Regions from separate parts of the Homo sapiens genome. Here region 1 is linked to region 2. The links are contacts of gene promoters, found by promoter capture Hi-C in blood cells and fetal thymus (Javierre and others, 2016). All regions are on one chromosome and are shown on one strand. Each heading gives the region's core, a stretch centred on a gene start or on the middle of the fragment in contact. The rest is flanking DNA. Distances are from core to core; before and after follow the strand shown.

What was found. Contacts are between HindIII fragments. The CHiCAGO score rates a contact against its expected background, and 5 or more counts as called.
Region 1: a contact is called between the fragment with the promoter of DAPK3 here and the fragment with the promoter of HDGFL2 in region 2, in 2 of 17 cell types (non-activated CD4 T cells and total B cells). The highest score is 6.1, in non-activated CD4 T cells.

Annotation. Positions count from the first base shown.
Region 1 is chr19:3,967,659-3,972,526 of GRCh38, reverse strand. It overlaps DAPK3 (death associated protein kinase 3), which reads left to right and starts at 1,428. Exons shown (of 9, transcript NM_001348.3): 1 at 1,428-1,606; 2 at 2,698-2,853. The coding sequence starts at 2,792. RefSeq lists silencers at 1,444-1,573, 2,562-2,856 and enhancers at 1,745-2,376, 2,377-3,006. The HindIII fragment of the contact is 26,550 bases long and covers 1-4,868 here.
Region 2 is chr19:4,469,348-4,473,638 of GRCh38, reverse strand. HDGFL2 (HDGF like 2) reads right to left here and starts at 1,342. Exons shown (of 16, transcript NM_001001520.3): 1 at 1,217-1,342. The coding sequence starts at 1,288. RefSeq lists silencers at 1,147-1,206, 1,237-1,416 and enhancers at 1,917-2,266, 2,527-2,696. The HindIII fragment of the contact is 12,260 bases long and covers 1-4,291 here.

The sequences.
Region 1 (4,868 bases), core at 179-2,678, 500 kb after region 2:
CCAACATGGTGAAACCCTGCGTCTACTAAAAATACAAAAATCAGCTGGGAGTGGTGGCGTGCACCTGTAGTCCCAGCTACTCGGGAGGCTGAGGCAGGAGAATCGCTTGAACCCAGGAGGCAGAGATTGCAGTGAGCCCAGATCTCACCACTGCGTTCCAGCCTGGACGATAGAAGGAGACTGTCTCAAAAAAAAAAAAAAAAAAAAAAAAAGGCTGGGCAAGGTGGCTCATGCCTGTAATTCCTGCACTTTGGGAGGCCGAGGCGGGCGGATCAGGAGGTCAGGAGATCGAGACCATCCTGGCTAACACGGTGAAACCCTGTCTCTACTAATAAATACAAAAAATTAGCTGGGCGTGGTGACGGGCGCCTGTAGTCCCAGCTATTCGGGAGGCTGAGGCAGGAGAATGGCGTGAACCTGGGAGGTGGAGCTTGCAGTGAGCCGAGATTGTGCCAGTGTACTCCAGCCTGGGTGACAGAGCGAGACTCCGTCTCAAAATAATAATAAAAAATGAATTTAGGCCGGGCGCAATGGCTCACGCCTGTAATCTCAGCACTTTGGAAAGCTGAGGTGCCGGATCACCTGAGCTTAGGAGTTCGAGACCAGCCTGGGCAACATGGTGAAACCCCGTCTCTACTAAAAATACAAAAATTAGCCGGGCGTGGTGATGGGCACCTGTAATCCCAGCTACTTGGGAGGCTGAGGCACGAGAATCGTTTGAACCCGGGAGGTGGAGGTTGCAGTGAGCTGGATACCGCCGCTGCACTCCTGCCTGGGTGACAGAGTGAGACCCTGTCTCAAAAAATAAAATTAAAAAAAAAACAAACCTGATACCTCCCAGTGTTGTCAGTTGGCACATACTATGTCTCAATAAAATGCTTGCTGTTACCCTCTATTTTGAGACGAAGAGGGACCCTGTGTATGACAACCCCAGATTGACCTCATTTGCATTTTAAGTATTTAGAATGTGGGTAACAGTTTTCAGTGGAGGAAACTGCCACATAGGGACTAAAGCAGTCCCAGGGTCCACTCCAGGAGCTGCCAGGCGCGCTCGGCCACAGGTGAGCCATCCATTCGCCCAACCGGTGCTCCAGGAAGGCAGGAAGCGGGATGCAGGGCTTCAGCCTCACTTCTCGCAGCTTCAGCACCTGGGTCAGAGGAGAGGCGGGCGGGGCGATGAAGGGACCGGAAGTCGGCCTTTTTTCCGTCCGCTTGACCAGCGTCGACTGCAGCCAATGAAATCAGGGATGGCGAGTGTTCAGCCAGTGGTGAGGCTGCATCCGGGTGTGGGTGCCGAAAAGGCAGCTGGGGGCGGGACGTCGAGGTGCGGCACGAGCGGCGGGCGCACCGGCCAATAGGCGGCGGGGTTCGTTTCCCGGGGGTGGGCACTGGCGGGTGCGGTGACGTCGGCGCAGGCGCGTCGCGGCGGCAGGGGCGCGGGGCTTCTGGAGGCGGCGGCGGTGGCCAGCGCGGCGGCGCCGGCCGTATTCTCCGGGCTGCGGAGGGTAAAGAGCGGGCTCGGGCCGAGGCTGGAGGGCTGGGTGGGGCCAGAGCGGCGCTTCGGGGGCCCGCGGAGGACGAGGGAGGGAGAGAATCTGAGGAGCTGGTAGGTTTGGGGACCCATCTGGGTGACCGGGCCGGGGAAAGGGCTCGGCCGGGCGTGCGAGGGGCGTAGCGGCCCCAGGGATGCTGGAGCGGAGCCTTAGGGATGGGCAAGGCCTTGGGGGCGGGGGGAGGTTCTGCAAAGGGAGCCACTGGGGTCTGCCTAGGGGCTTGTGCGGAGATTGCGGGCGAGAAGGGGCAGAGGACGGTGGAGGAGACTCAGATGGGGCCCTTTTTGGCGGCCCGTTTTGGGGGGTAGGGGAGACGGCGGTTGGGGGACTTTGATACATGGAGCGTGGAGGAAGAGGTTAATCTTGCGAGGACAGTGGAGGTCAGCGGGGGAGGGAGGCAAAGTGGGCTTTCAGGAGCGTGGAAGGCGTCGTCCGGTTCTTGGAAAATTCAGAATTGGAGGGAGTCAGAGATGGTTGGGGGTGGGCGGGGGTGTTCCATCGATGAGGGTCTTAAGAGACCTGCCGAGGGCAAGGACCAGGAGGGGTTAAGGTAGTAACTTGGGAATTTTGATCGGAATGGCAGCACTTTGGGAGGCCTGGGACGATCGCTTGAGCCTTGGAGTTCCAGGCTGCAGTGAGCCATGATTGCACCACTGCACTCCAGCCAGGGCGACAGAGCGAGACTCCTTCTCAAAAAACAACAACACCAACAACAAAAGAAGTAGACTTGAGAACTTCGTTAAGACATTGGCCAGGGAGTAAGGTAGCCCTGGGATTTGAGGTTGAGGAGAACGTGCAGGAATGGTGGGGGATTTTGGCTGAGCAGGTTGAGAGAAGTCTAGGAGTGAGAGGCAAAAAAAGACGCAGGCAGCGTCGGGGAAATCAGAATTATGTGTCTGGAGAGAGTTTTGCGGGGTGAAGGTGGCCCAGTGGGGCTGTTACCAAACTTTTGAGTGGTTATGGGGCTCTAAGAGGTGACATGACAGGACCCAGCCCAGTAAACACAGCACCTCTTTTTGTCGAGTTTGGAGCTTCAGAGTGGAGAGGTGGGAGGCTTGTGTTTGCTGGACAGGTCTGTCCATTAATCTAGGAGAAAAGGGTGGTGTCTCAGTTCCTCACTTCTGTCTTTCCCTGTCTTCTCCAGGGTTGCCATTAGGGGACTCCTGAGGTCCTATCTCCAGGCTGCGGTGACTGCACTTTCCCTGGAGTGGAAGCTGCTGGAAGGCGGACCGGCCGCCATGTCCACGTTCAGGCAGGAGGACGTGGAGGACCATTATGAGATGGGGGAGGAGCTGGGCAGGTGAGCTGTCTGCCCGCACGGCTGGGCTCCAGGGATAGGAGAGAGGCGCTGTGGGGTTTTCTGAACAGCAGCTCTCCTTTCCTGTTCTTTATCCTGTATGCTGAGAAGGAATGAGTCAGTATCATGCGGTGGGGGAACGAATTTGGGCCGTGGAGTCAGACAGCCCCGGCTGTGAATTCCTGCTTGGGAATCCTCTGTGTGTTTCCTGTGGGGAGAAAAGTAATTGAGCCGTTACAGCAGCCAAGACCGTGCCTGGCATGGGGCACCAGAGCAACAGATGCCAGCTGCTTTTGTTATTAAAAGATGTGTCTTCTGCCTGGGCAACATAGCAAGACTCCATCCCTACAAAAAATAAAAATGAAAAAAAATTAACCAGGTGTGGTAGCTCATGCCTGTAGTCCCAGCTACTAGGGAAGCTGAGACGGGAGGATGGCTTGAGCCCAGGAGTTGGAGGAGGCTGCAGTGAGCTATGATCGTGCCACTGCACTGTAGCCTGGGCAACAGAGTGAAACCCCATTTATTTAAAAAAAAAAAAATCTCCCTGTGTTAATCCTCTTTTGTGGGAGGCACTTTAGTTTTTTTGCCCAGCTCTTGGATGTTTAAAGTGGGGGGAGGGAGGGGCGTGTCTCCCAGCTGGGCCCAAACCTCGGTCAATTGTTTAACATGCTTGTGGGAAAAAGCAGAGGTTTCCTCTTCCAGGGAGGCAGCTGATTTCCTGCCTGTCTGGGCCTTGGAGGGTCCCCCTGGGGCCCCACCCCCTCCAGACTAGCCAGGCACCACTAGGCCCTGCCTCCTTTTGTAGAGCCTCCAGCCTTATTTGGTGAGTTTGCTACTGGCCAGCCTCCCTGGAGCCTCCCCATGATGTCACCAGAAGGGAATGTAAATAAGTGAGCTCTGTGTCAGGCTAGGGAGAGTGCTGCAGGCTCTTTTGGGATCCTGAGGTCCCTCCTTCAGGAATTTCCTCGTTAGTGGCAGAGAAAGCATGCTCCCTCCTCCCCCTTCTCATGCTTCAGTGTTGACCCCTCCTGCTAGGGGTCGTTTGGCAAAAGTCAGCAAAATTCAGCCAAATTTCTTTTAACTCGCCGATTTCACCTCTAGGAATTAATTCATTGGAAAACTGTACATACATGGATGGAATGACTTAAGACTGGGGTAGTTGCTAGAACGTTTACCAGAATAACAGCCTTTTTTTTTTTTCCTTGACACTATCTCATTCTGTCGCCCAGGCTGGAGTGCAGTGATGCGATCTCGACTCATTGCAGCCTCGGCCTCCAGCCTAGCCTCCCGAGTAGCTGGGATTACAGGAGCCCGCCACCACCCCTGGCTAATTTTTGTATTTTTAGTAGAGACAGGATTTCACCATGTTGGCCAGGCTGGTCTCGAACTACTGACCTCAGGTGATTCACCTGCCTCGGCCTCCCAAAGTGCTGGGATCACAGGCGTGAGCCACCGCACCCCGCTGGGAACAGCAGCCTCTTAAATGGCCTTCCCCAAACCACTGCATCAGGGCTGGAATAGGATGCAGCTTGTAAAAAGAACCAGGCAGGGCCAGGTGCGGCGGCTTCCGCCTGTAATTCTAGCGCTTTGGGAGGCCAAGGCGGGAGGATCGCTTGAGCCCAGGACTTCAAGACTAGCCTGGGCAACATAAGTTGACCCCCATCTCTCAAACAAACAGAAATTCATAATTTTAAAAAAAGTATTTAGCCTTCTGTTTTTGCCGTGAAGCCTTGGAGGTCTGGTGTGTATTTCATGTCGCAGTTTTTCTCGGGACTGGCCACACCTCACGGGTTTGACAGCTCTGGGTGGCCAGTGTCTGCTGTTCTGACGGCACTGCTTCAGGTAGTGGTCTGGAACATTCTCAGAGATACATGAAGTGCAAGATGAAGGCCCAGAATGTAGCAATTTTTGTTTGTTTGTTTGAGACGGTGTCTGGCTCTGTTGCCGAGACTGGAGTGCAGTGGTGCCATCTTGGCTCACTGCAATCTTCGCCTCCCGGGTTCAAGTGATTCTCCTGC
Region 2 (4,291 bases), core at 93-2,592:
CCCCCTGACTGCCTCCTCCAACCCTGGACCCCTAGCACATGGCCCTCGGCCCCCCAGCCCCTCAAAACTGGGCTTCTCCAGGACCCACAAGGGAGTGCTTCAGCCCCCATATCTGACCCCAAATCTCAAGTTCCGCAGTTCTGCTCAAACTTGAACCTTGAGCCCTCAGGCCTGGGATCCCCAGGCCCTCAGGTGAGGGTCCCTCAGGTCCCAGACCCTCCCAGACACCCTGCGCACGGCTCCCTGAGGCACCCTGGACACCCCCAGACACACGAGGCGTGGCTCCCTCTGGGCCAGGGCAACCCCAGATCCCCATGGTGCAGCTCCCTCAGGCACAGAAGCCCCAGACCCCCAGAGCGCAGCTTCCTCAGGCCCAGGACCCCCAGACCATTGGCGCCGCAGCTCCTTCAGGCCCTGGACACCCCCCAGATCCCCACGGCGCAGCTCCCTCAGGTCCAGGACCGCCATTCCCCCAGAGTGAGAATTTATCAGGCCCCAGACCCCCAGGGCACCGCTTCCTCGGGCCCGGGACCCCCAGACCGTCGGCGCGCGGCTCTTTCAGGCCCCAAACACCCCCAAACCCCCAAGGTGCGACTCCCTCGGGCCCAGGATACCCCCAGACTCCCAGGGAGCGACTCTCTGAGCCCCAAAACCCTCATACACCAAGGGCGAGAGTCTCTCAGGCCGCAGACACCCTCAGAACCCCTAGGCGCGGCCCCCTGAGGCCCAGGGCCCCCAGACCCCGGGGCGCGGCTCCTGCAGGGCTTGGACACCCCCAGAACCCCAGGACGCAGCTCCCTGAGGCCGAGGACCCCCAGACCCCGGGAGGGGCTCCTGCAGGCCCAGACGGCGGGTCCTGCAGGATCCGAACACCACCAGACCACAAGAACGCGGCTCCCTGCAGCCCAGGACCCCCAGGCCCCGAGGGCGGGGCTCCCTGAGGCCCAGGATCCCTAGACCCCGGGGCGCGGCTCCGGCAGGCCCCGGACAACCCCAGACCCCTAGGGCGCAGCTCCCTGCGGCCCAGGACCCCCAGACCCCCAGGGCGGGGCCGCTGCGGGTCTCGGACACCCCCAGACCCCATGAACCCCAGACCCCCGGGGCGCAGCTCCTTCAGGCCCAGGACAACCCCGGCCCTCCAGTGCCCGCCTCCGGCCCGGGGCCCCCGCTGCCCCCCCCCCCCCCCCCACCGGCCCCATCTCCCGCGCGGCCTCACCCTGGCAGGCCAGTGAGGGTAGCCCTTCATCTTAGCGAACACCAAGTCCCCGGGCTTGAAGGCGTGTGGCATGCTGACGGCGAGAGGCCCAGGCCGCGGAAAGCGGCTGCAGCGGCGGTAGCGGCTGCGGCGGCGGCGGCGGCGGCAGCGGGAGGCGAAGCCGGGGGCGGGAGCGGGACGCCGAGGGGGCGGGGGAGGCTGTCTGGGCAGCCTGCCGACGCGCGCTTATTGGGCGTTGCGCCAACGGAAGTTCAGCCCTCCGGCCGTCACGGGCCGGCAAAGCCGTCGATCAGGACCACGTGCAGGGGACAGAGAAGGGAGGCGACCAATAAGAACAGAGGTTGGAGCACAGCAGTTAACGGGATTGGATAACGGACAGACCCAAGGGGCGTAACCCAGAGACTCTAATGGGAGGTTATGGGAGGTGAAAGGGAAAGGTGGGAGGAGACGAACAGACGCTCTAAGGGAGTGAAGGGGTGGAGCTTAAGGGAAAGAGGCAGGACATAGACCTCCACAAGAGAAGGGGATATAAGGAGGGCAGAACATTGGATACCGCAGAAAAGAAGGCCAATCACTTAACGCAATGGGCGGGTCATTGACAGCCTCTCCCGCTCAGGAGGAGAGGCTTAAAGTAGATATGCAAGCCATTGGATACCACAAGAGAAGCGCCTCAAGGTAGGGAGCAGGCATTGGCCATCACAAGAGGCGGGGCTTCAGCGGGAACGTCGGCCATTGGCTATCGAAAGAAGAGCGATACAACATAAAACAGGGACGGGCGATTGCCAGCTCGAGGAGGCGGGACTTAGAGGAAGGGGCAGGCTCCGGGGGAGCTCTTAGTATAAACAGCCACAAAATGCACAAAATAGTTATTTCTTCACTTAGTTAAAAACTTAACTGAGTACCTACTATATGCCAGGGCCCCAAAACGCCACACAGACCTATTCATTCATTCAAGAAAAATGTACTGAATACCGTGGGGCCGAGTCACTTGATTGTCCTGGGCTTCGCTCTCTGCACTTGGAAGATGGGGCCCATAATGATTGTGAGGACCCTGCTCTAGACTGAGCCCGGCAACAGGAAATACAGGAAGTATTAGAAGCTATAACTCGGCCGGACGCGATGGCTCACGGCTGTAACCCCGGCACTTTGAGAGGACGAAGCGGGCGGATCACGAGGTCAGGAGTTTGAGACCAAGCCTGGCCAACATGGTGAAACCCCGTCTCTACTAAAAATACAAAAATTAGCTGGGCGTGGTGGCACGCACCTATACCAGCTACTCAGGAAGCTGAGGCAGGAGAATCACTCGAACCCAGGAGCGGGGGGTTGCAGTAAGCCGAGATCGCGCCACTGCACTCCAGACTGGGTGACAGAGCAGAAAAAAAAAAGCTATAACTCTACCTTCCGGCAGGGCGTGGTGGCTCACGCCTGTAATCCCAGCACTTTGGGAGGCCGAGGTGGGTGGATCACGAGGTCAGGAGATCGAGACCATCCTGGCTAACATAGTGAAACCCCGTCTCGACTAAAAATACAAAAAAAATAGCTAGGCGTGGTGGCAGGCGCCTGTAGTCCCAGCTACTAGGGAGGCTGAGGCAGGAGAATGGCCTGACCCCGGGAGGCGGAGCTTGCAGTGAGCCGAGATCGTGCCACTGCACTCCAGCCTGGGCGACAGCGCGAGACTCTGTCTCAAAAAAAAAACAAAAACAAAAAACAAAACTCTACCTTCCAGGAATCAAGTATAACAGGGCCAAGAAATGTTAAGTTTTAAAATTTGTTGATGTTGCTGTGTTTTGTTTTGTTTTTTGTAATTAGGATCCATGGTAAGAACTAAAATGAACCAGGGTGCTTGAGGAAAAAAAGCTGAATAATGGAGACGACTTCTTCTCTCCTGGGGGATCACAGAGGGTTACTGGATGAAGTGAGTTTAACCAGACACTGGGAGAATGAATAGAAGTTGGACATGATAGTGAGGCGAGCCCTGGGAGGGCATGAGGAGCAGAGGGAAGAGCAAAAACAAGCGTCTGATCCTCACTTAAGGTCAGGAGTACGAGACCAGCCTGGCCAACATGGTGAAATCCCATCTCTAGAAAAAATACAAAAATTAGCCGGGCGTGGTGGTGGGCGCCTATACTCCTAGCTACTTGGGAGGCTGAGGCAGGATAATCACTTGAACCTGGGAGGCGGAGGGTGCAGTGAGCCGAGATCACGCCGTTACACTACAACCTGGGTGACAGAGCGAGACTCCGTTGCAAAAAACAAACGAGACCGGGCGCGGTGGCTCACGCCTGTAATCCCAACACTTTGAGAGGCCGAGGCGGGTAGATCACTTGAAGTCAGGAGTTTGAGACCACCCTGGCCAACATGGTGAAACCGCATCTCTACTAAAAATACAAAAAATTAGCCAGGCGTGGTGGCAGGCGCCTGTAATTCCAGCTACTCGGGAGGCTGAGGCACGAGAATCACTTGAACCCGGGAAGCGGAGGTTGCAGTGAGCCAAGATCATGCCACTGCACTCCAGCCTGGGTGACAGAGCGAGACTTTGATTCAAAAAAAAAAAGAAAAGAAAAGAAAAAGCAAACAAGCAAAAACAAGAACAACAACAGCAACAACAAAAAACCCATCTGATCCTAGGATGACTGTGTGTGAGTAGGGGAAACAGATAAAGCTGGAGGGCTGGAGGGGTCCGTAGAGGACCTATCACAATACATTACAAACATAAATGAGAAGTTTGGGTTTTATTTTAACTTCTTGGGAAACTATTGGGGGGATCTGATCAGAGGATACAAAGAGAGTATTTTATTCTCAAAAAACATCCCTATGCATGTGAAATATGGATCAACAAAGACCATTTCTTTAAAACTGAAACGTAAGGCCTGGCATGGCATCTCACACCAGTAATCCCAGCACGACTGAGGTGGAAAATTCGCTTGAGCCCAGGAGTTCGAGACCAGCCTGAGCAACATGGTTAAACCCCATCTCTACAAAAAATATAAAAATCAGTTGGGCATGATCCGCACACTTCTACTCTGAGCTACTCAGGAGGCTGAGGAATGAGGATCGAGCCCAGGGAGGCAATGG